Regions from separate parts of the Homo sapiens genome. Here region 2 is linked to region 1. The links are contacts of gene promoters, found by promoter capture Hi-C in blood cells and fetal thymus (Javierre and others, 2016). All regions are on one chromosome and are shown on one strand. The core of a region is centred on a gene start or on the middle of the fragment in contact, and the rest is flanking DNA. Distances in the headings are between cores, read along the strand shown. Region 1 holds the start of SRSF11 (serine and arginine rich splicing factor 11). Region 2 holds the start of SERBP1 (SERPINE1 mRNA binding protein 1).

Region 1 (5,699 bases), core at 1,909-4,408:
GGGTGAGGTTCAGTCATACATGTATTTTAAAGCACCTCATATTCTACAGGAGAGAAGTTGTTAAACTTAACCTGTCAACTGGTGACAGGTGCTATAGAAAAAAAGTAGTGTTAAGGAGAATAAAGCAGCAGCAGAGGTGCTTTATTTTACATAGGGTGGTCTGGGAAGTTTTCTCTGATTAAGGTGACATCGGAAAAATAAAAGTAGTTAAGCATGTCACAGATATGTCTAGGGGAAAAAGAGTTACAGGTGCATGTCACTGCCTTCTTGGGGGAAATCATATAGTTTTCCCTCAGTATCCATGGTTTCAGGACTCCCTGCAGATAACAAAATCCACAGATGCTCAAGTCTCTTATATAACATGATGCAGGGAGGGGGAAGAGGTGGAGGAAAAATAAAATCATGGCATATTACCTGTGCACATCCTCTTGCATACTTTAAATCTCGTGATTACTTATAATACCTAATACAATGTAAATAGTTGCTATACTGTACTGTTTAGGGAATGACAAGAAAAAAGTCTGTACATGTTCAGTACAGACGTTCTCTCCTTATATTTTCAATTCACAGTGGGCTGAATCCATGGATGTGGAACCCAGAGATGAAGAAGGCCAACTGTGTAGATAATAGTTACAATCAGGTGACCTGTTCACAACAGATAGAATTTTATGTAATCTGAGCCATTCAATGTTATGAATAAATATTTTTGGAATGATGAACCCTGTGGACCACTGGGAACTATATGCAACTTGTGCCAGTCAGATTAGTGTATTGAAACTTATAGTTAAAAAAACAAAATGCAACATCAAGTAAATAAAAGTAGCCATCTACATTACTGATCAAATGTAGAAGGCCACTAATAACATTTAACTTATTGTAACCTTGTACATTTTAAAAGACAAAATGATCTTGTATGTGGGAAGATAAATGAAGGAGTCAGAGTAAAAATGTGTCAATTTATCTCTCTTTCTCCCAATACTGGGAAGGGAGTCCTTTTAATGCAGAATATCCCAGATCATATAGTTGAGGGAGACATTCTCAAGCACACACTAGCTGTCCTGGTTATGAAGGAACTATTCATTTGATTACAAAACAAAAAGACTCTGGTCCATCACAACTTCCTCTAGTATACTGGTCATGCATTAGGTAAAAGATGAACCAGTATAATGCCTACATCTCTCTTACCTTTTTTCTAAATGCATCATAAAACTGCCTTCAGAGAATAAACAGCATTTAAAAGTCAGCAACCATAACAAAATTTTTAACTTGTAGGATTGGAAAGAATTGTAGTAATTCGAATACCTCAAATATCTCACTAATAAAACTATTAAAATCATCCAATGTATCACTATTTTCTGCTATTTTACTGTTCATTAATTTTACAAGCTTAAAACAGTAAGTCTTGAGAAAACTGAACAACAGCAAAGCATCTATTTTTGTATGTTCATGTTATGAAAGCTATTTGTCTTTCATTACCAAATCAAGTATCTGTCAAAATAACAGGAATAAAGATTTACGTGTTTGTTCCCAGAACTCCACGTCATGCAAACTAAGTAAATCCTCTCTCCACATGTACATTTCCCTAAAAATTAGAAACATACCAATTTGAAAACACCAATAATCTTGTGAAAGTATTTTAAGTGGAAAGTGATGAAATATGCTAATACTTAACAAATATCTCATTATGATAAACTTTTGTCAATTATTTTATTGAGCAGAAAGTTAATGGTTACACGTACCATAACAGTAGATTCTTAGAGGATTCCAATTTCCTGTTTAGTATTTAAGTGACATCATAAAATTCTCAATATATGATATTTACTGATAATGACATTTGAATTGTCACTTCTCCACCAATAAGTCTTCCAAAAAGCACAAGACTATTATTATTATTCCAATTGTCTGTTTTAGTAGTACACTTTATCTTACTTCTTAGCTTCTTTGAACTATTTTTTCTTTACAATTCATCCACTTAATATTCTTGCGATAGAAATAATTTTCAAAATAAAAGTGAGACAAAAAGGATAAAAAGTCATACACTCTAATTCAAATTTCAACATTTATAAAAATCCTTCTCAAGAACAACTGTGAAATATCACAAATCTGTATATTATTCAAACAAAGGAAAATCTCTGGTTTATAACCCGTTTTTTGACATTATACAAATTAAGTAATCAGGCTCACACTAAACTAAGCGTCTGTCAAAAAGAATATGATCTTTGAATTATATTGCTGGGCCAGAACCACATAACAGCAATAACAATAAGTGAACAACCTACAAAGTTTAACACCAAATTAACACAGGCATGAATAATTTTGTTACCTTTCTTCCAAGAACGCAAAGAACAAATACTCAGTTTTTTAAAAAAGGGATTTAACCTATATACGACGTACAGACTGCGGTTAGTCTTGCGTTAAGTCCCCAAAGCCAAACGACCACGTTGGCACAATTTAAGGCGGAAAAAAAAAATTTCCCGAGAATAACAGCCAGTGTTTCCTAATTCCAAAAAGCCCTGGCCCTGCCTCTCTGCATTTTTTTGTAGGCCTGGAACACAACCGTCTTAAGTAAATCCACCAGCCACCAGCCACTCAAGCAGCCTGGCCCGGGGAAGCAGCGACAGGGGCCTAAGGAAATTGTGTGTGTTAGGCCCAGGCTGAGGCGGCGTTAGCAGGAACAGTGATGGTGGACGATACTCACTCCGGCGGGAAGAGGCGCAGTTCGTCGATCTTGCCTAGGAAACCGAAGAGAGTCCGCATCTGCTCAGAGCTAGCGCTCGGGGAGACATTAGTCACCTGGATTACCTCGGTGCCGCCGCCTCCGCCGCCACCACCACCTCCGCCACCGGGCCCGCCGCTGGGGCCCGGACCTGCAGTGCTGGGGACGACGGTAGTGTTGCTCATGGCGCTGCTCGGGTTCTCGCTCCTGCTTTAACACATCAAACACACAACAAACAGTGAGAAGGAGGGGGAAGAGGAACCGGATTGCGGGAGAGAGGAGGGTGTCCGATGCTACAGCCTCTGCTACTGCTGCCGATGCCGCCGCCGCCGCCGCCGTTTCTCCGCCCCGCCGCACGCCGCGGGGGAGGGGATGAGAGCGCGCGAGCTCGAGACCACGAGAAAACAAACGGCCGCCCCACCTCGCCTCCAACCACGACACTAGCGGGCCCGAGCTCCCACAATGCTTTGCGGCGCAGGGCGCGTCAGCGTCGGCTCCACCCCGCGCAGGCCCAGCAGCCGTCGCCTGCAGCCCGAGAAATGAGAGGCACCGGGGTCTAGAGAAAGGTGTTATCCACCTTCGTCTCTCGTTTTATTCTTCTTTTTCTTCTCTCTTTTTTTTTTGGAAGAGCGAAGAGGCACGTATAAACTTTTTTTTTAAAAAAAGCATTCATCCTCCTGCAAAAGTCACTTCAGCAACTCTTCTTATTAAATACTGCTCACGATGTCTTTATATACTGATAATCATCTACAGAGCTATCCGATTACTAATGATATTTAAACCCAAGCTAAGATGCCACCCCACCACCACCAGTATAAAATGTCCCGAAATTTTCAATGTACATGAATTTTGGTAACATTAAATCTGTAACTAATTTGTTTTGTCACTAAAACTTTCAGAAAAGATATATTTTAATATTACACTTATTAATAAGCGTTTTGTACATTCATTCACAATGGATGACTTTTTTTTTTGAGACAGAGTCGCCCTGTCGCCCAGGCTGGAGTGCAGTGGCACCATCTTGGCTCGCTGCAACCTCCACTTCCCCTGTTCAAGCCATTCTCCTACCTAGGCCTCGGGAGTAGCTGGGATTACAGGCGCCTGCCACGACGCCAGGCTAAGTTTTGTATTTTTAGTAGACATGGGGTTTCACCATGTTGGCCAGGCTGGTCTCCAACTCCTGACCTCTGGTGATCCACCCGCCTTGGCCTCCCAAAGTTCTGGGATTACAGGCGCGTGAGCCACTGCACCCAGCCAATTCCACAATAGCTGACTTTGGAAACACAGTTTATAGTACTTAAATATATTCAAGTATATATTTCTAAAGAAAATACTGCAATTTCTCAAGAAAAACTTGTTTCACATACATATTCTTGCTTAAAATAATTTTGAAGCTTTTGACTATTAAAAAAATCCTTGCTTTTGTTTTCAACCTCATCTGAACTATTCTCTCAACTGCATCCAGTGTGTAGTCCAGTGACTTGTAGTGCCCCAAACATGACAAAAACCATAATGTCTCTGTGCCGATACACAAGTTATTAATAACATCACTCATCTTATCTGTCATCTTCTGTAGAGCATTCCTTCCCTCACTGCTATGACTTCTGCAAGCTGTTAGGGCTTCCTCTTTTCTGCTAAGTAACAGAAGATACATGTATTTATTATTGACATGTATCACTCAAAGTTGTGAGCTTCCTGGGTCAGTCCAGAACCTGGCACAATGTCTGTCACACAGTCAGTCCCAATGAATGTGCTGGACACACGCACAAATATACCTTAATGACAATGGCATTTAAGACAGTTCACTAAATAATTCACTTGACCTTGAATGTTTTTAGAGGTAAAAGTTTTAGATGTTTTGGAGGTAAAAACAAACAAACAAACTTGAAGCCTTACAGAGTATCTACATTAGTGAATACCTCTTGGCACAATGCAGTCAAGATGCAATATGTGAGAGATTAGAGCACAAGGTTATTGAGATTTGGGTGTAGAGCCAACTGGCTAAGTGACTTTCACTAGTGCTTATACAGAAAATGGATGGGTTGACTGAATGTGAGCCTCAGCAAAATTACAAATTATGGCCTTCATAGAAATCAACTAACATTAGCTAGAGCCAAGACTTTTCAGAATTTTAAAGAAAAGCATATAGCTGTCCCTCAGTATCTGTGGGGGATTGGTTCCAGGACCCTCCCACAAATACCAGAACCAGAGGATGCTCAAATCCCCTATGTAAAATGGTGTTGTGTAATAAAGCATTTGATCTGTATCCATGGGTTCCATGTATGTGGATTCAACCAACCTGGGACTGAAAATATTTGGAAAAAAATTGATGGTCTAAACATGTACAGACTTTTTATTTCTTGTCTAACAACTATTTACACAGCATTTACATTGTATTATTATTAGTATAGAGATGATTTAAAATATTTGGGAGGATGTGCACAGATTATATACAAACGCTATCCTATTTTACATAAAGAATTTGAGCATCTGTGTATTTTGATATCCTCTGGGGTCCTGGTATCAATTCCCCATGAATACTCACCTCAGGACTGGTACAACTGTATTTGCATATAATGTAAGCACATACCCTCATACTCTTGAGTAACCCTTATCTAAAATGCTTGGGACCATAAGTGTTTTGGATTTTGGATTTTTAAAAAAGATTTTGGAATATCTGCATTATATTCACTGATTTAGCATCCCTAATCCTAACATTTAAAATCTGAAATGCTCCAATGAGCATTTACCTTGTGCCAGTTAGTGCTCAGAAAGTTTCAGATTTTGGAGCATTTTGGATTTTGGTTTGGATTAGGGATACTCAACTTTAATACTGAATACAATGTAAATGCTATGTAAATAGCTTTTATACTGTATTTCTAAAACCTTTTATTTTTAATGTCATTATTTTTTATTTTTTGAATATTTTTGATGGGGGTTGGTTAAACCCAAGTATGTGGAACACATGGTTATGGAGGCTGAT
Region 2 (5,115 bases), core at 438-2,937, 2.8 Mb after region 1:
AGATCTTCTACATTGCACTTGAGCTATTTCAAAAAGGTGGGAAGAGTATGGTCAAAAGCTCCTTGTCTTGGTAGGTGCCACAGAACCAGAGCCTGTGGAAGGGGGGATGAGATAGGGGGTGTGTTTGAGGTTGGGCGTTGTGGGCAGGGTGCAGGACTGAGGCAGCAGGGAAATAAGTGAGGAATAGGGGAGGATTGAGAAACAAGAAAACCAGGAGGCTTGCTGCCCCATGTATGTAATATGACTCGTGTCTTCTATTTTCCCTGCTAAGGAATTGATTTAAAATCTGCTCGGAAATTGATGATTACATTCCGCCATGTTACATATCCTGACACGCAACAATGTTTAAATTATATCGGAAATTTAAAAATTGGACTGCTTTCTATCAGGGCAGTCTGAATTAAAGAGCTGATGTCCAGTCTCCTAGTGGAGATAGAATACTGGGCTAATGCCTGTCACTAGCACTTACAGAGGTGTGAATTTGGTAAATCATTTCATCTCTGAAGTGGTTTCAACATTTGTGAAAAGAGGCAAACTATTTGCCTAACAAAATGTTGAGTTCAAGGTTATTCATAGCTCCTACCAAATAAGCGATGCATTTGCTACTTTGTGTTAATGGAAAAGGACTTAAAAATTATGATATACTTAAACCCGGTGCTACCAAATGTGCTTAAATACGCATTCAAATTGTATTCTTTTAATGAATTTTAATATTCTCAACTAGTATCAATGCTTTGTCATTATTAAGTGTTGACTTCAATATTTCCCTCCCCTCACCGCAACTCCTAGCACACATGCACTCGAAATGTTCTCAAATGATATGTATTGAGCGCATGTGACTAACAACACAGCCACCTAAGCCCTGACTTGCCGGACACGAACGGACGATTAATTGGAATAATTGTAACAGGGTTTCTATAAACAGTGCTTCCTGGAGGCTTGCCCCGCGTCTAGCGCTGCACCGTCAGGAGTTAACCACTCCTACGACACCCGCCGCCACACGGTGAGAAGCCCGGGAAAGACGCGCCACGCTCCCATGTGATAGTTTCACTTGTCTTTTTGGTTAGTTCTGCTACCCTAGTTCATGTCCCCGCGAGAGGAAACGTATTCCCCCTCACATTAGACAGAAGAGCCTCGATTCACCGTGGAGGCTGACGGAGGGCCACTCCAGCAACTGAGCAGCTCGGACTTGGCACAGGCAGGGTCCAGCCTACCCGCGGCCGGCGCGGCGCCTCAGCAACACCCCCTCCCCCGGAAGTTTGTGCGTCTCAGATGTAAGGTCTGGGAGTCACCTTGACCCCCCTGGAGCGGTGGGGAAAGTTAGCCCTGAGCCCGAGGGGGCGTGAGTGAAACCAAAGAGCACTTTCGCGAGTCAGTTACGCCGTCACGGTTTTTTGGTTTCAAGGTAGCTGAAGACCTAGAGAGTTTAAGGGTGGCCAGAGCAGGTGGCAGGACTCCGCCCACCACCACGCTTCCCTTCCTTCAGCCCGCACGCTTCACTCCCCTCATGGGGTCTCGCCTCTCAGGCGCGCGCGAAGAGTTGTCGCGCGGTGCGTCCTGGGAATTGTAGTCCCGACGCGGAGAGTCGCCTCAGGAGAAATGACTCTGGCCTACATACCCCACAGTGCCTTGCGGCGCAGGCCGCTCCCGGATGTGTGCCTGGCGCCGGAAGAGAAGACGGCCCCCCTCTCTCGGCCCGGCCATCTTGTGGGAAGAGCTGAAGCAGGCGCTCTTGGCTCGGCGCGGCCCGCTGCAATCCGTGGAGGAACGCGCCGCCGAGCCACCATCATGCCTGGGCACTTACAGGAAGGCTTCGGCTGCGTGGTCACCAACCGATTCGACCAGTTATTTGACGACGAATCGGACCCCTTCGAGGTGCTGAAGGCAGCAGAGAACAAGAAAAAAGAAGCCGGCGGGGGCGGCGTTGGGGGCCCTGGGGCCAAGAGCGCAGCTCAGGCCGCGGCCCAGACCAACTCCAACGCGGCAGGCAAACAGCTGCGCAAGGAGTCCCAGAAAGACCGCAAGAACCCGCTGCCCCCCAGCGTTGGCGTGGTTGACAAGAAAGAGGAGACGCAGCCGCCCGTGGCGCTTAAGAAAGAAGGTAAAGCAGGGGCAGAATGTGGGGGAGACTGGGATGGAGGGAAGGAGCGAGGGGGCTGCCGGCTGCCACTTGTTTCTGGAGCTCCGAGGGTCCGCGGGAGACTTTGCCGCCTATATCCTCACGTTTCTTCACGCGACAAAAGTCCGGTCCTGCGAAGGTGCCAGGAGCGTGGTAGCCCCAAGTTCAAGCCACCGCCGGCGAGGTTCTCGGAGCCATCCCCTTCCCGCCTCAGGTTGTGAGCAGAGGAGCGTGGTCGGAGATGAGCTGCTCCTCGAGCGCGCTCGAGGTCCTGGGAGGCTGTTGCCTTCCCGCCGGATTCCTTGGCGGGTGAGCGCATGGACTGAGGTGCGGGGAAGCCGGCCCCTCACCGAAGCTTTCCGTAGTTACGGAGGAGCTTGGGGGTCCATCGCTGCTTACTGCGCAGAGCTGCTCCTTTGAGGTGCTGTTGTTTCAGGCTCCTGTCCTGCCGTCTTGTCCCACGACGGCGCGGAGTATCCCCGCTGAAAAGCAGGGGGTCGTTCCAGGCCATCAGACGTGTGGAGTAAGCTGCAGGTTGGGGTGCCGCATGTCCTTTATTTGTTTCTCTTCCACCTCTCAACTGTTAGGACTTTCTCATAACTTGCTGGGGTGAGTTGAGCCGTTGGGAAATGGAGGAGTTTGGCCACACTCGATTAACCAGGAGCGGGAATTATGAATGAAGACTGGTGATTGCAGGACATCCCGAGGAACGTCCTCGAGTCACGATCCTCTCTCTCGACTCCCCAAACTGAATCTTTCACGTGGTGGGGTCTGGGCCTCGTGGGTGAAGTGAGTGCAGAGGCTGTCACAGCGTTAGTCGCAGCAGAGCTCTTTAGAGTTCGCAGTTTTTTTTTTCCACCACATGTGCGTGAAGCATGGTCAGAGTTTCACTGGCGGTTAATAGTTGTTTCTAGGGCACTGTGAGTTTCACAGGATTGTCTTGATTTTTGCATTCGCTTTACCAGTTTGTTGCGGATGAAAAAAAAGAGCAAGCAGTTTGGAGATAAGAACGTGCATGATCAATAGCAAGCAGGTGTTGGACCTAAGGTCTGAATCTTTAAAGCTGCATTTATATGTTGAAAGTTGAAATTACCCCTTCCTGCCACGTGCTTCTCTGAAAGGAGTTGTTTCTCTTTAGCTTTAGTTGAATTCTGTAACAGTGAACTAATTTTAAAAATCAAAACAATTTTCTCGTGGTAGGATTTGTTTTAGGAGGGTTTTTTTTTTTTTTTTTGAGGACTTTTGTGAGGCTCGGAATGAAGAACCTCGGTCCTAGGTGGTGAATAAAAGAAAATAATTAATTCTTGTGGTAAAATTATAGGTTGAGGAAAAATACAGTTGGAGTATTAGAAAGCATGTATATCACTTAGGCCAAGTATCTCTTCAGCCAGTTAAGCTTTATGGCAATCTAGCACAATTAAATAAATCATTTAATTCGTGTGTTAAGTAACGCTGACTTGTGTAATTATTTAAACTATGCTTAAGCTTAAGAAAGTACACGAAAAAGTTGAATCTGACGAATAATGTGTACCAGGTAGATGTGTTCACTCATTTTGAATGTTCAAAACATGAAGCATGGTTTAAATGCCTGAGTTATTTTGATCATGAAGCCCATCTATGAAATAAGCTCTTACCTGAAAAGTAGTATTTTAAGTTAACAAATGTGGGGAATGATTTCATGAAGTTAGAACCAAGACTTAGGTTCACCGTTCAATGAGTCTTTCCATGGGAAAACTATTCCATGTTAGCAATCAGCATTTTCCTTAGGTCAGTATTTCAGAGCACTACTGTTAAGTTGCATAAAATACAAGCATGTAAAATACAGGAAAAGTGTTGAATGGACAATACCCGTTTTGAGATTCTACTGTCCTGATTACTGGGAATAAATCTGTAAACAAAGTCGCTGCATGTAGTAGGAAGGTTAACCTGATTGTGTTCTGTGATTTTGATAACACATTGTGACATAATACTTGACATACTTTAGACAGATATTTAATGTTTATGTTTTATGAATTAATTTTGTACATTCTCTTGCCCATTTGAAGAACTTGAGAATTGACAGCAGAATGTCATTGAGAGTGTAGACCAGGGATTTTCTAAAAAAGAATGAATGCCTTGAAACTAGTGCAGTTAGTGAGCTTGCAAGTTATAGATAAGTATATCAAAAGAAGCTTGCATTTTTAAATGTCAGTCTTTTTCATTAGGTAGGTTTAATACGTTTTTAAGATTCTGTAAACTTGATATTGGGTGGGGACGCCAACTATTGTTCACTTGGGTGTGTTTGGCTTGGATATTATTGCAAGGACTGGTTCCATAACTCCACCCCAGTGCACTTTATTACTGATGACATTTATTTAAATACCTTGGTGTAAGGTCTAATATTTGTAGTCTATCTTGAGTATTTACAGGGAATGAACTTCAAAATTCTATTGAAGAGATTGATAGTTACTGTTTGGCTCCAGTTAACAGGCAGCAGAACAACTGGGTGTGTCTTGATGGTGTTCTACTTTCTTAGAAAGAACCAAAGTGAAGCAGCTTAAAATCTTGTAAAACCAATTCCTCAGCTGCTTTATGACTTTGTCAGAAATTGGGAATTAGAGCATACCAACAATCTTAAAGTCATTAATTTAACCATCAATCTGTTGATCCTTATGGGCACCAATAATTTAAATTGGTTGCCTTTGTGGGGTTTCAGACATTACAGGAAAAAAGTAGTAAAGGGGGAAATTAGTAAATGCTTCAGCTATCACTTAGTGTCACAAGTTTTCTTATTTCTTACATGTTGCTTAAAAGCGGTCTTAACGTGTGTGTATTTGGTTTTTAAAGATTCTTTGAAAATAAAGATAGTTGTTAGGGCAAATTTTTTAGAGGACTCTCTCCATGCATAATAAGTAACTGTTTCCTAACTTGGAAGTACTTAGGGATGTGGGAGTGTGTACAAACATATATACACTTACATGCTATAAAATTTTAAACTTTAATAGGGGAAGATGGCC

The links. The method cuts DNA at HindIII sites, captures the fragments that hold promoters and counts their contacts. A CHiCAGO score of 5 or more calls a contact.
Region 2: a contact is called between the fragment with the promoter of SERBP1 here and the fragment with the promoter of SRSF11 in region 1, in 5 of 17 cell types (total B cells, naive CD4 T cells, fetal thymus and 2 more). The highest score is 7.9, in total B cells.

What each region holds. Positions count from the first base shown.
Region 1 is chr1:70,218,839-70,224,537 of GRCh38, reverse strand. SRSF11 (serine and arginine rich splicing factor 11) reads right to left here and starts at 3,158. Exons shown (of 12, transcript NM_001350605.2): 1 at 2,699-3,158. The coding sequence starts at 2,901. RefSeq lists a silencer at 2,774-2,823 and an enhancer at 2,719-3,264. The HindIII fragment of the contact is 2,724 bases long and covers 1,389-4,112 here.
Region 2 is chr1:67,426,974-67,432,088 of GRCh38, reverse strand. It overlaps SERBP1 (SERPINE1 mRNA binding protein 1), which reads left to right and starts at 1,687. Exons shown (of 8, transcript NM_001018069.2): 1 at 1,687-2,101. The coding sequence starts at 1,789. RefSeq lists enhancers at 1,036-1,215, 1,246-1,325, 1,536-1,805, 1,243-1,878, 2,514-3,150. The HindIII fragment of the contact is 6,007 bases long and covers 1-2,476 here.